6 separate regions of the Homo sapiens genome follow, and regions 1, 3, 4, 5 and 6 are each linked to region 2. The links are contacts of gene promoters, found by promoter capture Hi-C in blood cells and fetal thymus (Javierre and others, 2016). All regions are on one chromosome and are shown on one strand. The core of a region is centred on a gene start or on the middle of the fragment in contact, and the rest is flanking DNA. Distances in the headings are between cores, read along the strand shown. Region 1 holds the start of INTS7 (integrator complex subunit 7). Region 2 holds the start of UTP25 (UTP25 small subunit processome component). Region 3 has its middle 4.8 kb from the start of PACC1. Region 4 overlaps LINC02608 (long intergenic non-protein coding RNA 2608). Region 5 overlaps ATF3 (activating transcription factor 3). Region 6 overlaps NSL1 (NSL1 component of MIS12 kinetochore complex).

Region 1 (2,700 bases), core at 137-2,636, 2.2 Mb before region 2:
AAGGAAACATATACACACAAATGCATGCATTTTCCCGTTAACGCGCAATGGAGATGTAAGCTGTAAGGGGCCTTGGAAGGCAGTTATTTCGACGTCCCTGCCTACGTTACGATTTTAAAAGCCCGATTACGATTACAAGTGTCCCGAGGGGATGAAAGTACAGCTTTCTTTAGTAGTCCCTGCTAACACTAATTTACCCTTGCCATGGGAGAACTCAGAAGCTGAGTTCAGAATTGGAGTCGGCCCTGGTCGGAGGTGGCGTGTGTTTCGGGGGAAATGAATTCCGCCAGCTCCGAGCAGCGGTTGGGACCGTTACTCACCATTTCTCAGGACGCCAAGCTGGGGCTGGCGGAGCACCGAATTGAAGAGCATCAGGGTCGGAGGAAAAGCCTCAGCTGAGAGAAAAGTCGTAGAAATGCCTCCAAGTTCAGCAGAAATCGCAGCTTGCGCCTCTCACAACACAAATCGTTATCGCCTCCAACTCCCGCCACTGTAAGCCCCGGCCGCCAAACTCCGCGCCAAACTGACGTCACGCTCTCTGATTGGCTTCCGAGCGACGTCCGGGCGCCTCAGAGTCATTTCCCCCTTCGGATCCCCGCCTCCTTTTCTCCCAGCCGCGGGAACCTGGAGTCCAAGAGCTCCTTGAGCGCCTGCGCAGGGGGTAGCAGAGGCGCGGACAAACCGCGGGGTGACCAGGGCGCATGCGTAACAGGGCTTGACAGCGCGCGGAAGAAAAACCAGCAAGAAGGCGGCGGGGGAAGATGGCGGTCCTGGGGTAGAGTTTGCAAGCTTTCTGACTAGGCTAGTCGAGTAACTATTCGGGTCATGGCGTCAAACTCAACTAAGTCTTTCCTGGCAGATGCCGGCTATGGCGAACAGGAACTGGATGCCAACTCTGCCCTTATGGAATTGGACAAAGGTATTCGAAAGAGAGGGCTGAATGGGTGAAACAGGCGTGGGGGGAAGTGGCGCCACCAGGTGGTGGTTGCTTTGGGAGAAGACGGATAGGCGCATGCGCATGTCTTCGCTGGGCGGGGAGCGCCTGTGCTTTTGCTGGGGCGTGGGCTTTGACCCCTTCGGGAGGTTGCGGGAAATTTGCAGGATTGTGTGACTGGCCTTATACCGGCTAAACAAGTAGCGAGCTCTAGTGAGAGGCCCGTTTTGACCACTTGAGGGAGCAGTCCCCCGATTTTCTAAGCAGTGACAGTGGCTAGTTTCTAAGAGACACTGCAAAGAAATTGTGAAATTGGTTTTCAGTCTGTTCAGTTGAGACCAGGTCTTCATGAAATGTGCTGAATAGTAATCTTGCACCGACTTGACAGCGATTCATTTGATTTCCATAGCTCTGTTACCTGCGGGTTACAAGGCAGGCTAAACCTGGCCAAGACCATAAAAAAGCAAGGGCCCTGCTCATTCTCTGCGGACAAGTTCCAGGAGTTCTGTTGCCGTACAGGGAGCAGCTTGGTGTAGAGGGAGCTTTGGGGTTACACTGAGTTAAGTTTCAATGCCGCTGATTTTATGATTAACTTCATCTAGCCTCGGCTTGTCGTCTGCAAAGTGGGTACAGTACCATTGAGCCGGCAGAATTGTATTAAGTGACTTAATGGTATGCAAAAGAAGCATTTAGTAAATGCTGAAGAGATATACCTCCCTTCTTAGATGTGGATATGGGAGGCAAGGTCGGAAATTTGTTAGTAAAGAACTCGACTAGTAATATGAAACCTTTATTTCATATTGAGGATTTTTATTGTACGGGAAACATTTCGGCAGCTGGTATACAATTAAATCTTGATTAATCGTAGCCAATATATAATGTTGGAGAACTGGACTAGAACTCAGAAGGGTTTGAGCCACTTCCCAGTTTTCTGAGTTGGACATGTCTATTAACTTTTTTGGGACTCTTTTTCTGTTTATTTTTTAAACTGTGAATATTTTTAGTGGGTTAGTCTAAATAAGAGTTTCTCAGGCTCTTAAAAAAGCTTTTACCTTATTTTGATAAACACAAAAATTTCACAGCCCCCTAATGGGATATTCCTTTGGTTGAGTCTCAGTATCTTTAGTGCACCCCCATCAACCAAGAAAATTATGTTGAACTTTTCCTTCTCTTACCAAATCTTTAGGGGTTTTCTCCTCTGAAAAAAAAAAGTATAATACTAAATGTGTTTTTCTCTTTTTTTTTGGAGACAGAGTGTTGCTCTGTTGCCCAGGCTAGAGTGCAGTGGCGCCATCTCGGCTCACTGCAACCTCCGCCTCCCGAGTTCAAACGGTTCTCCTGCCTCAGCCTCCCGAGTAGCTGGAATTACAGGCGCCCGCCACCACGCCCGGCTAATTTTTGTATTTTTAGTATAGACGGGGTTTCACCATGTTGGCCAGGCTGGTCTCCAACTCCTGACCTCAGGTGATCCGTCCGCCTCGGCCTTCCAAAGTGCTGGGATTTACAGGCATGAGCCACCGCGCCCGGCCTTAAATGTGTTTTTCAAACACTTTCCTCCTCATTCTGATACATTTCTTTCTTATTCCTCAGTGAAAGTTACAGGTCAGGATAATATCTAATATCCCTACGAGTTCTAAGGACATTTTCTACCATTCTGGTGCAGCTGAGCTTGTCTCATGCTGACAATAGGATAGTGGTTGTGGAACAGGGATAAAGATGGGGCACTGAAGAGGAGTCTAGAATGGTTTAATTCCTCAAATTTTGCA
Region 2 (2,700 bases), core at 158-2,657:
ACTACTAATACACTTAGTTCCTTATCGTAATTGCAAAGATCAATGATGTCCCAACAAATTCTTTAAAAACACACACAACATATGATGTGACTATAACTAACAATTTATTGTATATTTTCAAATGGCTAGAAGAGCGGATTTTCAATGTTCCCAACGCAAAGAATTGATGTTTGAGATGATGAATATGCTAATTACCCGGATTTGATCATTACACATTGGGTACATGTATTGTTATCAAAATATCACACTGTATCCCACAAATATGTACAATCATTTTATGTAAGTTAAAAATAATTATAAAAACAGGCCAAGCGCGGTGGTTCACGCCTGTAATTCCAGCACTTTGGGAGGCCAAGGCGGGCAGATCACCCGAGGTCAGTAGTTCGAGACCACCCTAGCTAACATGGTGAAACCCCGTCTCAACTAAAAATACAAAAAATTGATCGGGTGTGATGGCGGGCGCCTGTAATCCCAGCTACACGGGAAGCTGAGGCAGGAGAATCGCTTAAGCCCGGGAGACGGAGGTTGCAGTGAGCTGAGATCGCGCCACTGCACTCCAGCCTGGGCGACAAAGCGAGACTCTGTCTTAAAAAAAAAAAATTATATATATACATATATATATGTGTGTCTACAAAAAATTCCTAGATCTCTGACCACACAAAAATCCGCCCCCATAGCTGGGCGCGGTGGCTCACGCCTGTAATCCCAGCACTTTGGGAGGCCGAGGTGGGTGGATCACCTGAGGTCAGGAGTTCAAGACCAGCCTGGCCAACATGGTGAAACCCCATCTCTACTAAAAATACAAAAAATCAGCCGGGCTTGGTGGCGGGCGCCTGTAATCCCAGCTACACGGGAGGCTGAGGCAGGAGCATCGCTTGAACCCGGGAGGAGACAGAGGTTGCAGTGAGCCAAGATCGCGCCATTGCACTCCAGCCTGGGCGACAGAGCGAAACACCGTCTTAAAAAAAAAAAAAAAATCCTCCCCCACACAACGGGCGTGCCTCTTAGCAGGAAATTACAGGCTCAACAAAAAGGCCCGTGAAGCACTCCATCTCCCGGCGGGATGGCGCCAGAATCTCCCCGGCCGAGCACAGCGGGAGCCAGGGAATAGTGGGAAAAGGCCGGAGCAGCACTATCTGGGAGACCAGAGGACCAAACTCGAGGATACATCTCTGGCGACTGGGGAGCCCTGCCACGCCCCTTCAGACCTGTCATAGAAGGGATGCTCCTCGCCGAAATCTCGAAGATGTTTCTTCTGCTTTTTAGTTAGGGTGTTGAGTAGCTGGCTCTGGCTCCGGCTCCCGCGTTTGCCCATAGCGAAAACGTCAAGTTTGCCCACTTGCAAGAGTCGCGGTTTTCCACCAGGAAGTTGTCCAGTCAACACAAGCACGTGGGCTCGCTGACTGCGCTTTACGGCGAAAGCAAGGTGCCATAAAGCAGATCCGCTTTACGTCGCGCTCGTACGACAGGCTTAGAACATCCGGTTCCCGGTTCTGCCCCCTACCGCAGCTCTTTGAAAGCACGGGAGTTCGTTCACTAGTGTTCTCAGAGCCCTAGAACGTGGGCAGCTGGGCTTCCCGGGTTGCGTGAGTCGGGGGCATGAGCTTTGTGCTTGTGTTTTGGTTATGGAAATCAGTCTGCGTAAATGTGTAGTAGCGGAGATAGTCGAATGCAGTGACTTTACAGTATACTGCAATAAAAATATCAACCAACATTTAAGGGTGCCTGAACATCTCACTTCATCACCACAACAGTGTACAGATAGGTCTTGTTAATAAGCCTGGTGTTGCAGATAAGGAAACTGATGCTTAGAAAAGATAACACGCTAGCGGCCGGGCGCGGTGGCTCACGCCTGTAATCTCAACACTTTGGGAGGCCGAGATGGGCGGATCACCTGAGGTCAGGAGTTCGAGACCAGCATGGCCAAACATGGTGAAACCCCGTCTCTACTAAAAGTACAAAAATCAGCCGGGCGTGGTAGCGGGCGCCTGTAATCCCAGCTACTCAGGAGGTGAGGCAGGAGAATCGCTGGAACCCGGGAGGTGGAGGTTGCAATGAGCCGAGATCACTCCACTGCACTCCAGCCTACTCCAGCCTGGGCGACAAAAGCTAGACTCCATCTCGAAAAAAAAAAAAAAGAAGAAAAGAAAAGAAAAGATAACACGCTAGCAAGAGAAGAGAGAAAAACCTTAACTGATGCAACCACATGCTTTTACCCATTAGGGTCTGCCGCCTGTGTGTGTTATATCAATCATGGGGCCCACAAGTCTGAGATTCCCACCCTCACCCTATTCTCGCATTTTCTGAAAGTATTGGAAGAGTCCCCGCAAACAAATCTGTTCCAGCATTCCCCATTTAACAACAGCAGAAACACATCTAGAGAGGTAAAGTGACTTTACTGAAATCACCCCAGTCAATGCTAGAAAAGGCTGTGAAACCCAATCCAGTGTCTCATAACTGAACTCGGACAAAAGGGGATGGAAAAGCTTTTGAAGGTAAAGGAACCATCTTACATTTTGATCATGCTAGTAGTTACACCTTGTATACATAAGAAAAGTTAAACTGTACAGTTAAAATGGGTGAATTTTAATGTATTTAAATAACACCTAAATAAACAGGAAAAAGCAAAAATATAAAAGTAGACTCAGTATTCTAGGGATTTGCAAGTGTGCAGGGCTGCTTGAGACCACAGGATAAAGA
Region 3 (2,774 bases), core at 59-2,558, 2.6 Mb before region 2:
GCTTTATATGGCCTTTATTCAAGATGGAGTCATTCTGGTTAGGACACCTGTGACAGAATAAGTTTAAATGTTAATGGAATAACTCTGGCTGAAGCCGGGAGGCTACTGCAATAATCCAGGTGGGAGATGATGGCTGCTTGGACCAGGGTGGTGCCTGGGGATGTGGTGAGAAGTGGTTGACTATGGATATGTTTTGAAGATGTGGTTGATAGAATTTGCTGACAGATGAGACTTGGGATGTAAGAAACAGAGAGGAGTCAGAGGTGAGTTGGAGGTTGTTGCCCTGAGTAACTAGAAAGATGGAATTGCCATTTATTGATATAGGAGTAGGTTTTGGAGGAGAAGATCAAGATCAATTTGGGGCTTGTTCAGTTTGTGATGTGTGTTAGACATCTAACTGAAGGTATCAAATTGGCAATTAAATATACAAGTCTAGAATGAGGGGAGAGTTCTGGGCTGGAGATAGAAATTTTGGAATTCACTGGCATAGGTGTTGTATGTAAAGCCACAGGAATGGCTGAGATCGCCAAGGGAAGTGCATGTGGACAGAGGGGACTGAGCTCCTAACATTTGGTGGTTGGTAGAACTGGCAAAGGAGACCAGAAAAGGGCTCACTGTATGCCAGGTACTGGTTTCAGCACTTTGATGTTTATAAGCTCTTTTAATCCTCACTTTAACTCTGGGACATAACTATTACTATGTCAGGGGACCTTAAGTACCTCACGTAGCTCTCACAGTAGGTGACAGAGCCAAGTCAAGCACAGGCCATGTGTCCTACAGCCTGCCATAACCACCAGGCTATCCTTCCCCCCAGCGACTATACCAAATGTTTATACTTTTACTTATTTAACAGGATGGGTTTCTAGTGCAGAGTGACTTAAACAGGATCTGTGTGCATTAACTTTACTCTGAATCTCAATTTCCACATTAGTAACATGCCAGCCTGCCTCTTTCATAGGACTGTGTTAAAACTAACAATGGTAGTGGAATTGTAAACCTCGAAGTGCAGTATCTACATTACACTGTGTCACAAGATCTCTGGGGATGGAGGAGGCCCTTGAAAACCCCCGAATTGAATATCATCCCCTTCCTGATGCATGTCACGATAACATCCCTATCATACCTTGTACTGCCTCTCTGCTTGGGCCCTTTCTCTTTCTACAGTTCTGTTTGTAAGGAACATCTTTAAGCCAAAAGACCCTTCTAATTTCTACTGATCCCATATAACTCCCCCCTCCCTGAGATGCTGAGGATAAGTCTATACATGAATAACATGCTTATAGGCCCTTGGATTTCTCCAGGCACCCCTCTGATTGTCATTTTCTACTTGAACCCAGACATATTTTTCCAAAGCACTTGGAATCCGTTAGTCACCGGCAAGAAAAATGGAAAGTATTCTTTTTCTTTAAAATTTTATTTTATTTTAAGTTCTGGGATACATGTACAGAATGTTCAGGTTTGTTACATAGGTAAACGTGTGCCATGGTGGTTTGCTGCATCTATCAACCCATCACCTAGGTATTAAGCCCCACATGCATTAGCTATTTATCCTGATGCTCTCTCTCCCAAAATAGAAACCATTCTGGATAGAACAGAATGGCTGAATACAGGGAGCCAGTTACACAGGTGATGAAAGAAGCTGAGACAATAACCCTGAGGCAACCAAGAGTATCAACAGCAGGAAGTCACCATTCCAGCCAATGGAAGGGTAACAGGGGTGTTTATTTATTTTTATGTATCTTTTCTGAGATGAAGTTTTGCTCTTGTTGCCCAGGCTGGGGTGCAGTGGCACAATCTCAGCTCACTGCAACCTCCACCTCCCAGGTTCAAGTGATTCTCCTGCCTCAGCCTCCCGAGTAGCTGGGATTACAGGTGTGCGCCACCACGCCCGGCTAATTCTTTGTATTTTTAGTAGAGACAGGGTTTCTCCATGTTGGTCAGGCTGGCTTCAAACTCCCGACCTCAGGTGATCCACCCGCTTCAGCCTCCCAAAGTGCTGGGATTACAGGCGTGAGCCACCACGCCAGGCAACAGTGGTGTTTATTAGAGTCTAAGGGCCTGAGTCACCTGGCTGAAGCTAGGACCACAAAAAGCCTTTGTATCAGGGGCTGGAGCCATGGAAGGGAAACTGTGAGAGGCAGAGAACAGGGAAAAAAAAGCCCTGGCTTCTCCCTTGCCCTGACTCCTGAAAATGCCTCCTGCTAAGGTATACATGTAAATGATTGCCAGCCATTATTCTAGAGGTCACAAGACATTGCAACTTCCCCAATTACTCCTGCAGATAACGTCACTATCGTAGAACCTCAGCTTGGCTTTTTGAAATGTCTTTTCGGGTTTTTTGCATGTCCGACACTGATGGCTCCACCTGGACCCACCAATCACTCCTGTGGCCCCCACCCAGCAGTGACTAAGTGCACTGGAGGACCATTTCCCACACCCCTGTGATTGCAACCCCAACCAATCAATAGCAAGCACCCACCCCTATCCTATCCCACAAACTACCTTTGAAAACCCCTGGCCCCCAAATGCTTGGGGAGATTGATTTGTGTAATAACTCTGTCTCCCTGTGGCCTCAGTCAGTTAAACTCTTTCTTTACTGCAATGCCATGGTCTCAGTGAATTGATATTGTCTATACAGCAGGCAGGAAGAACCCATCAGGTGGTTACACTACATGCCCCTAGTGGTCCTCTCCACTGACACTGCCTTCTGCTTGGCTTCAGCCTAGGGCCTGTGTACTGTACCTGTGCCTTCTGCCTGTACCCGCACAGACCAT
Region 4 (2,753 bases), core at 144-2,643, 2.5 Mb before region 2:
TACAGAAATAGAAAAAACAATAAAATTCATTTGCAACCACAAAAATTCCCAAATAGCCAAAGCAATACTGAAAAACGAAAAGTTAGAGGTATCATACTTCCTGATTTAAAAGTATATTACAAAGCTATAGTAATCAAAACAGAATAGTTCTGGCATAAAAACAGACACATAAACCAGTGGAACAGAATAGAGAGCCCAGAGATAAATTCAACCGTATATGATAGTCTCTTCAATAAAGATGCTAGGAAAACCATACATCCACATGAAAACAATGAAATTGGACCTTTATACCATACACTAAAATCATCTTAAAATCAACATAGGGAAAATGCTCCTTGACATTGGCCTTGGCAATGATTTTTGTTTTTATATTATATCAAAAAGGGTACAAAAGCAAAAAAACTAAATGGGACACATCAAACCAAAAAGCTTCTGCATGGCAAAGGGAACAATCAACAAAATGAAAAGGTAACCTATGGAATGGAAAAAAAATTTGCAAACCACATATCTGGTAAGGGGTTAGTATCCAAAATTTATAAAGGACTCTTACAACTCAATAGCAGAAAAATAAATAACCTAAAAAAAAAATTTTTTTTTAATTGACAAGGCTGGGCACAGTGGCTCACATCTGTAATCCCAGCACTTTGGGAGGCCAAGGCAAGCAGATCACTTGAGGCCAGGAGTTTGAGACCAGCCTAGCCAACGTGGCAAAACCCCATCTCTACTAAATATGCAAAAGTTAGTTGGGCGTGGTGGTGCACACCTGTAGTCTCAGCTACTTGGGAGGCTGAGACACGAGAATCACTTGAACCCAGGAGGCAGAGGTTGCAGTGAGCCGAGATAGTGCCACTGCACTCCAACCTGGATGACAGAGGGAGACTCTGTCTCAAAAACAAATAAATAAATAAAATAAAAATGGACAAAAGACCTGAACAGACATTTCTCTAAAGAAGACATAAAAATGGTCAACAGGTGCTGGGCACGGTGGCTTATGCCTGTAATCCCAGCACTTTGGGAGGCTGAGGTGGGTGGATCACCTGAGTTCAGGAGTTCGAGAGCAGCCTGGCCAACATGGTGAAACCCCGTCTCTACTAAAAAAAAATACAAAAAATTAGCCAGGCATTATGGTGGGTCCCTGTAATCCCAGCTACTTGGGAGGCTGAGGCAGGAGAATCGCTTGAACCCGGGAGGCGGAGGTTGCAGTAAGCCAAGATTGCACCATTGCACTCCAGCCTAAGCAACAAGAGTGAAACTCTGTCTCAAAAAAAAAAAAAAAAGGTCAACAGGTATATGAAAATGTACTTGATATCACTATCATCAGGGAAATGCAAATTAAAACCACTAGGAGATATCAGTTCACATCCATAAGGATAGCTATTACCAAAAAGACAATAGGCAACAAATGTTGGCGAGGGTGTAGAGAAAAGGGAACCCTAGTACACAATTGGTGGGAATGTAGATTGGTACAATTATTATGAAAAACAGCATGGAGTTCCTGAAGAAATTCAAAATAGAACTACCTCATGACCCAGCAATCCTTCTAGTGGATGTATATCCAAAGAATATGAAATACCACTGGTAAAGATATGTGCATTCCCAATGTTAAGTGCAGCATTATGCACAATAGGGAATACATGGAAACAACCTAAATGTCCATCAATAGACGAAAATATAAAGAAAATGGTATGTACGTGTGTGTGTATAATGGGATATTATTTATATATATAATATATATATACACATGCATTATATGCATTATACAGACACATTTTATATATATAATATATATATAATGGAATGTTATTCAGCCCTCTAAGAGGAGATCCTGCTATTTGCCACAACATGGATGGACCTAGAGGACATTATGCTAAATGAAATAAGCCAGATACAGAAAAATATTGCATGATCTCATTTATGTGTAGATTTTAAAAAAAAAAAAAAGGAGTTCAAATACACAGAGAATGAAACAGTGGGATGCAGTGAGGAAGAGGAAACAGGGAGGTGTAGGTCAAAGGATACAAAACAGCATGTATGTAAGATGAATAAGTTTAGAGATCTAATGTAGGAGGAAAGTTAATAAAAATTGTATTATATTAGGCGTTTTTTGTTAAATAAGTAGATCATAGCTGCTCTTGTCACAAAAAGGTAACTAAGTAAGAGGGTAGATCTATTAATCTGCTTTACTAGAGTAACCATTTTACTATCTACTTTTCTAGATCTTTTTAAAGAATTCTAATTCCATATTGTCTATCTGGCCATTTTGCAAGCACAAGAACATACTGATATGATTAGACATCATGATTTTCAATTGCTGCCATTTTTGCTTTTTAACTTTAAACTTCTTTTAGTTAAGCTTATTATGATTCACCTCATTTGTTGTGGGCTATTGTACAGGCTATTGTGTTGGTCAACCAGGAGCTTAGACTAGGCCAGTGGCAGTAGAGATGGCTAGACTGGAGATTTATTTTGGACGAGGAGTATATAGGATTTGCAGATAGACTGAATGTGGGCTGTTGATACAGCAGAGGTATTATTAATCCCCGAAAACCTGCTCCTGTATTTATACTTTCTGATTATCACTGAATCATCTTTCCATAACTATGAAATCTTTTGCCCCATCTAAATGGGCTGTAATCATAAATGTTCAATAGCCCCTTGTCTACCCATTTCTTTACCTGTATAGATGAGGAACCAGGACATAGTTTGAAGGGGCTCAACTCATGCCAATATACCCTTGCCCTTGCAGAGTGGGA
Region 5 (2,808 bases), core at 304-2,803, 2.8 Mb before region 2:
GCTAACTGCCTTCTGGGAGTGTGAGCAAGTGGGTCTCTTATCCACAAAATTCCCAGACTGAGGTCAGAAGATGAAGATTTGAAGCCCACTTACTCCATTATGTGTTATCATTGTACCTCCCCGTGGCTTTTTCTCCTCTGTTAAAGAGGGCTTGTAATAATCGCCCTATTTTCCCATAATATCCTATGAGGAATTGAGGAACTAATACATGAATATGCCCTGGAAAACATTCTTTGGCCAGGAGCTCCATGATTACTAGGCCTCCCAGAGATCTCTCCAGCCCAGGGCTGGCTCTCTGACAGAGGCTCTGTGGAGTCCAGGAAGGAGGGCAGCTGGTCACCCACTTTGATCTCAAAGGCTTCTGAATAGAATACCCTGACTTCAAACTCCCCCTGGAGATCTAACATACACCAATGGAGGCAAGACTTCCAGGCCAATGAAATCTGCCCTTGACTAGTCAAAGAAACCCAGGCTATGTATGTAATTCTTTTCCCAAAGCCCTGTGTCATGAGTCAGAACTGAAGTTCTTCTCTCAATTTAATCCTATAATCTTAGGATGCTGGGAGGATACTTGTCGCTGTCAGGCAATAAACTCTGAGAAACTAGCCTTCTAAAGCCAGAGGCTTAAGATTCTCCCATGCATTCATGTTTCCCTTCCCTTTCCAAGTTTATTAAAAACTCAGTGATTCGGGGATGACATTCAGAGCTGCCACTGGGCTGGTCTTTGTTTGGAGGCCTGGATGGCTCCCTTCTACACGGGGACTTTGAATTCCACTGCAGTAGAGTGTAGTTCCATTTTGCCATCCAACTAGGTTTATTAATGAGCTCTCAGGGCTTGGGGTCTGCTGTTTATGACTCCCGCCCCCTACCCTTCTTCTTATGTAAAGTCAGCAGTCCCAATGAAAGAAGCTGAAGAATGTCAGTGGTATGGAATGCTTTTATGAAAAGCATTGGGTGGGCTTCCTTGGGGACATAAATGGTTGTAAAAATGTTAAAAGCCTTTCAGAAAATAAAACAGATGTATCTGTCGAGATTTGGGTTTTCTCGGCACTAGGCTAAAGCTTAACTTCTCGGGATACTTTCTAGTTATTCCTTTACTCAGTCTCTCGAGGTATGATTCAGCCTAGACTACGGCTGTGTCCCCACAAGGAAATGAAGTTAAATCTTCACACAATTTTTCAGAAAGTTGAGATCCTCAAACATCCCGGTCATTGAAAAAAATTGTTTGGGGACCTCAGATCAGAGTTGACTTTCTATGCTGATCATAAAATTGTTCAGACTTGCTACCAAGAACTTGCATTTTGTTTCTGCTTGATTATTTCCAATCAGAAATCATGTTGTATCATTGGCAGTTTCATCATTTTCAAGAAAGTGAAAGTTTACTCATGTATTCCTTTAACTGGAAATTCAGCTCCCAGATTTTTATTTCCTAGTAGCTACAGCTACATTGAATTTTCACTTTTAATTTTCATCCTCTTTCCACTAAGCATTGCTTGCTAACCATCTTATGTTACTAGGAAGCCAGTACTGGCCTTTCACTAACTCTTCATATCTTGGTCTTCCTCCCAGACCTCTTGAAGAGGTGCAAAGCTGGGCATCAAGGGCCAGAGACAATGTTTCTAAGCCTATCAGTGCCACTCATAAGCTGAGCATCCACCAACAAATCACTTAGGCTTTCTGGGCCTCTCATTCTCTTCCTCTGTAATTTGAGATCAAAACTGCCTTCCCCAAAGGGCTGTTGAGAAGGACATATGAGATTTACATACACACCGGGTAGTCATTACTACTGTGACTCCATCTTCTCCATTTCAGGAAAAACTCATTCTGTTGTTATCAATTCAATAAAGCCCTGTTAGTGAGGAATTAACTGGAACCTTCAAGACATTCAGGTCAGTCAGAGCCTCTTTTGTACTCTCATTGACCCCAAGTTCTTCACAGACCAGGTAGGTTTCACCCCACTATTTGCTGATGCCAGCATTTCTGCATTACATATTTGAAAGAGAACCAATTCTCACATATAAACCATTTCTCCCTTGGAAAGCTTCTGAGGCATCTTGGCTATGTCCTTCCTCCTCCCCTGGCTGGGTAAACACTCGAAGCCACTGGCCCTGTCCCATGCCCAGCCAATTTTAAAAAGGAAGGAATCATGGACTCTATCTAATGGAAATCACACCCTCTCAATATTAGAATCATCTAGGTCAGATTCTCATTTCATAATGAGTACATTGGTCCAGGGAGGTAAAAATGACTTGCCTGAGGTCATAAAGCTGGTGAGTGGCCCAGCCCATGCCAAGCTGCTGAACACCCACCGACTGCTCATTTTGCTCCATCACCAATAGGTATCGACCGCCTCAAGGGATCAACCAACAAGGCAACCAGAGAACAGAGCCATTAGCCAGGTAGATAAGGGGTCAAGAGTCCTGGCACCTGGTACCAATCACAGAGGAGACTTTGACAGGACTGAGATAGGGAGGGGCTATCGAAGAAAACGGCCATGGAGAAAAAGGAATTCTATAATGGCTAAAGGGCAAGGAGGAAGAGAGAGAGAAAAAGAAGGCTCCCATCACTGCCACAGATGCTGGGTGCTGTATCTTATCCCCACTGCGGGCGTGGGGTGCTGCCTTCTTTGCTGTCTCTGAAACCATTCCGACAGTAACTGCAATCCTCACCCCATCCCATCTTTGCCCAGGATATCCTCAAAGCAGGAGCCTGTATGTTGTAGCATTATTCTACAACCAATGCTAACTGCAAAACAATGGGGACAGTAATACCAATTTTTTGCCTTCACTTTAAGTTACAGAGACAGAA
Region 6 (2,976 bases), core at 1-2,500, 3.0 Mb before region 2:
TTTCGGGTGCGCTGCACCTCGAAGCGGGCTGTGACCGAAATGCTACAACTGTGCGGCCGCTTCGTGCAAAAGCTCGGGGACGCTCTGCCGGAGGAGATTCGGGAGCCCGCTCTGCGAGATGCGCAGTGGGTACGGGACCAGTTAGCCAGTTCTTTACTCATCATCCTCTTACCCAACACCCAGGATCTTAGGATTCAGAAAGATCCCACGCCAGGCCTTGGCAGAATTAACGGTGCCCCAGGCTACTGTAGAACCAGTTCGAGAAACGCTAGAGGAGAAAGAAATAGATGCTAATGTCAGCTGGGTCTTATTAATTACTTAGACCAGCGCTGTCCAGTGAAAATACAAGGCAAGCTAATCTTTATGTAGTTTTAAACTAAAAGTAAGAAATAGGTGAAGTTAATGGAAATAAGACATTTTGTTTAACCCAATAAATCCAAGGTATTTTAACATGTAATAATATCAAATGAATGAGATATTTTACATTCTTTTGTTCGTACTAAGCTTTTCAAATCTGGTGTGCTGCATTTACGGCACATCTTCGAACTAGTTACATTTAAGCGCTCAGTAACTACAAAGTGGCTAGTGGCTCACCTGTTGGACAATGCAGCCGCAGACAATGAGGAATTCTCCTGGAAAGGGTAATTCTGGAAGTCAGCCATTCACCCAAGCAGCATTTGATCTTTCCTTTTGCATGTTTTATTTATTTATTTATTTTATTTTATTTTTTTTTTTTGAGACAGAGTCTCGCTCTGTCGCCCAGGCTGGAGTGCAGTGGCGCGATCTCGGCTCACTGCAAGCTCCGCCTCCTGGGTTCACGCCATTCTCCTGCCTCAGCCTCCTGAGTAGCTGGGACTCCAGGCGCCTGCCACCACGCCCGGCTAATTTTTTTGTGTTTTTAGTAGAGACAGGGTTTCACCGTGTTAGCCAGCATGGTCTCGATCTCCTGACCTCGTGATCCGCCCGCCTTGGGCTCCCAAAGTGCTGGTATTACAGGCGTGAGCCACCTCGCCCGGCCTATTAACCTTTATTTTTACTGTTTGCACTGTGGTCATTCATAACTCACAAATGTGCGGTATTATGAGCTTTTAAATTTTTTCCGCTAATATAAGTAGATTGGTGCCTGTTATAAGGAAGCACACAATCCCTTTATTTCTTGTGTTCCCAAAAAACTACCACCTTCAGGGCTTTGCAAAAATATTTAAGAAAGGCTTGGGAAATGTGGTATAGAGGCAAATGTATGATCTTAGTAAAGTTTTCAACCAACACAATTTTTTTTAACCTATTTTAGTCTTGTAAAGAAAATGTTTTCACTCTAAAACAGGCAAAAGGGGTCGGGCGCGGTGGCTCACGCCTGTAATCCCAGCACTTTGGGAGGCCGAGGCGGGCGGATCACGAGGTCAGGAGATCGAGACCATCCTGGCTAACATGGTGAAACCCCGTCTCTACTAAAACAATAATAATAATAATACAAAAAATTAGCCGGCCATGGTGGCAGGCACCTGTAGTCCCAGCTACTCGGGAGGCTGAGGCAGGAGAATGGCGTGAACCCGGGAGGCGGAGCTTGCAGTGAGCCCAGATCTCGCCACTGCACTCCAGCCTGGGTGACAGAGCGAGACTCCATCTCAAAAAAAAAAGGTTCAGTGGAAGAATGAAGAAACACTTCCTGGGTTGTGACTCTGTATGTAGTTTTGTATATAGTGACTCTTACGTCATTCCCTCCTTGCAAGCAAGGCAAGAATAGGGATATATCTCAGGACGTTTTTAGTAGTTTTTTGGGAGAAGACTTTTGTTGTATAATCTTAGAATTTGTCTGATTCTAGGAAATGCTAAGGTATTTAAAACATTTAGGTGTCTTACAGAAAAAGAGGAACTTGGCTTAACCTATTATATCCTATTTAGTGGGACGATAAAGTGAATTATAAGATAAAGTTTACAGGGCTTAGACTACCACAGGAATTCACTTGTGTTTTATTTTAAATAAAGCAGAAGCTTTATTTTGTATCTCTGTTTAAAACTGCATATTAAGTAGCAGATTTTCTTTAAAAACAGTATTGGTAGCAGTCTGCAATGAATGTTACAAAGACAATATGTTTTCTCAGCAATTCTTGAAAGTAATTCTAGAAAATAATTTTAAAACATACATAGGCCGGGCGCGATGGCTTACGCCTGTAATCCCAGCACTTTGGGAGGCTGAGGCGGGCGGATCACCTGAGGTCAGGAGTTCCAGACCAGCCTGGCCAACACGGTGAAACCCTGTCTATACTAAAAATACAAAAATTAGCCGGGTGTGATGGCGCTTGCCTGTAATCCCAGCTATTCGGGAGACTGAGGCAGGAGAATCGCTTGAACCTGGGAAGCGGAGGTTGCAGTGAGCCAAGATTGCGCCATTGCACTCCAGCCTGGTTGACAAGAGTGAAACTCCATCTCAAAAAAAACAAAAAACAAACAAACAAAAAATAAAATAAGGATTTTACTTTATGAAATCTTTGAAATGTAGAATATGTACTTTAACTCATAATTATCAGTAATTTGGTTTATGTTATTTTTAATTATACAAAGGGTACAAAATATATGCTCATAAAAAAATTCAAACAGTAGCATAAAGCAAAATTCTTTGAGTTCCCCTTCCCCATCCCTCTTCCTTCTAGGACATAAGGTACTATTTTGGAGAGTACTTGGGGAGAGTAAACTTTCTATACCCCCTTTCTGTGGCTTTACCTCTTTCTCTCTGTTTATGTTTGTTTGTCTCCATTAATAATGTCATGCTGATGAATTGTTATTGACCTGCCTTTTTTGAAACCAAACATGTCTATTATTTGTTAGTGTTACGTAGAGCTTGTCTTCATCCTTTTTAGGTACTGCGTGGTATGAATATTGTCTATTTAACTCTTCTAATTTTGACTTTAGGTTTTTTCCCACAATTTTAAAAATTTCAAACAGTGCTGAAATGAACATTTCTAGCACATTCTCTTT

The links. The method cuts DNA at HindIII sites, captures the fragments that hold promoters and counts their contacts. A CHiCAGO score of 5 or more calls a contact.
Region 1: a contact is called between a fragment that was not itself captured here and the fragment with the promoter of UTP25 in region 2, in 2 of 17 cell types (activated CD4 T cells and total CD8 T cells). The highest score is 8.0, in activated CD4 T cells.
Region 3: a contact is called between a fragment that was not itself captured here and the fragment with the promoter of UTP25 in region 2, in 2 of 17 cell types (total B cells and non-activated CD4 T cells). The highest score is 5.2, in total B cells.
Region 4: a contact is called between a fragment that was not itself captured here and the fragment with the promoter of UTP25 in region 2, in 1 of 17 cell types (total B cells). The highest score is 5.1, in total B cells.
Region 5: a contact is called between a fragment that was not itself captured here and the fragment with the promoter of UTP25 in region 2, in 1 of 17 cell types (activated CD4 T cells). The highest score is 5.0, in activated CD4 T cells.
Region 6: a fragment that was not itself captured here is called in contact with the fragment with the promoter of UTP25 in region 2 in 2 of 17 cell types (total B cells and non-activated CD4 T cells); the score reaches 9.5 in total B cells.

What each region holds. Positions count from the first base shown.
Region 1 is chr1:212,033,563-212,036,262 of GRCh38, reverse strand. It overlaps INTS7 (integrator complex subunit 7), which reads left to right and starts at 706. Exons shown (of 20, transcript NM_015434.4): 1 at 706-919. The coding sequence starts at 826. It overlaps DTL (denticleless E3 ubiquitin protein ligase adapter), which reads right to left and starts at 515. Exons shown (of 15, transcript NM_016448.4): 1 at 321-515. The coding sequence starts at 372. RefSeq lists enhancers at 1-230, 246-485, 231-767, 646-855. The HindIII fragment of the contact is 1,190 bases long and covers 792-1,981 here.
Region 2 is chr1:209,826,679-209,829,378 of GRCh38, reverse strand. UTP25 (UTP25 small subunit processome component) reads right to left here and starts at 1,407. Exons shown (of 12, transcript NM_014388.7): 1 at 1,209-1,407. The coding sequence starts at 1,315. RefSeq lists an enhancer at 1,318-1,367. The HindIII fragment of the contact is 3,327 bases long and covers 1-2,488 here.
Region 3 is chr1:212,418,337-212,421,110 of GRCh38, reverse strand. No RefSeq gene overlaps it. Among named protein-coding and RNA genes, the nearest start is that of PACC1, 4.8 kb to the right of the region's middle. The HindIII fragment of the contact is 9,263 bases long and covers 1-2,774 here.
Region 4 is chr1:212,277,920-212,280,672 of GRCh38, reverse strand. All of the region lies in intron 1 of LINC02608 (long intergenic non-protein coding RNA 2608), which reads left to right. Among named protein-coding and RNA genes, the nearest start is that of LINC02608, 5.7 kb to the left of the region's middle. The HindIII fragment of the contact is 1,924 bases long and covers 432-2,355 here.
Region 5 is chr1:212,610,356-212,613,163 of GRCh38, reverse strand. All of the region lies in intron 1 of ATF3 (activating transcription factor 3), which reads right to left. Among named protein-coding and RNA genes, the nearest start is that of ATF3, 3.0 kb to the right of the region's middle. The HindIII fragment of the contact is 980 bases long and covers 1,064-2,043 here.
Region 6 is chr1:212,788,683-212,791,658 of GRCh38, reverse strand. NSL1 (NSL1 component of MIS12 kinetochore complex) reads left to right here. Exons shown (of 6, transcript NM_015471.4): 1 at 1-129. Among named protein-coding and RNA genes, the nearest start is that of NSL1, 1.6 kb to the left of the region's middle. RefSeq lists an enhancer at 431-1,209. The HindIII fragment of the contact is 1,488 bases long and covers 507-1,994 here.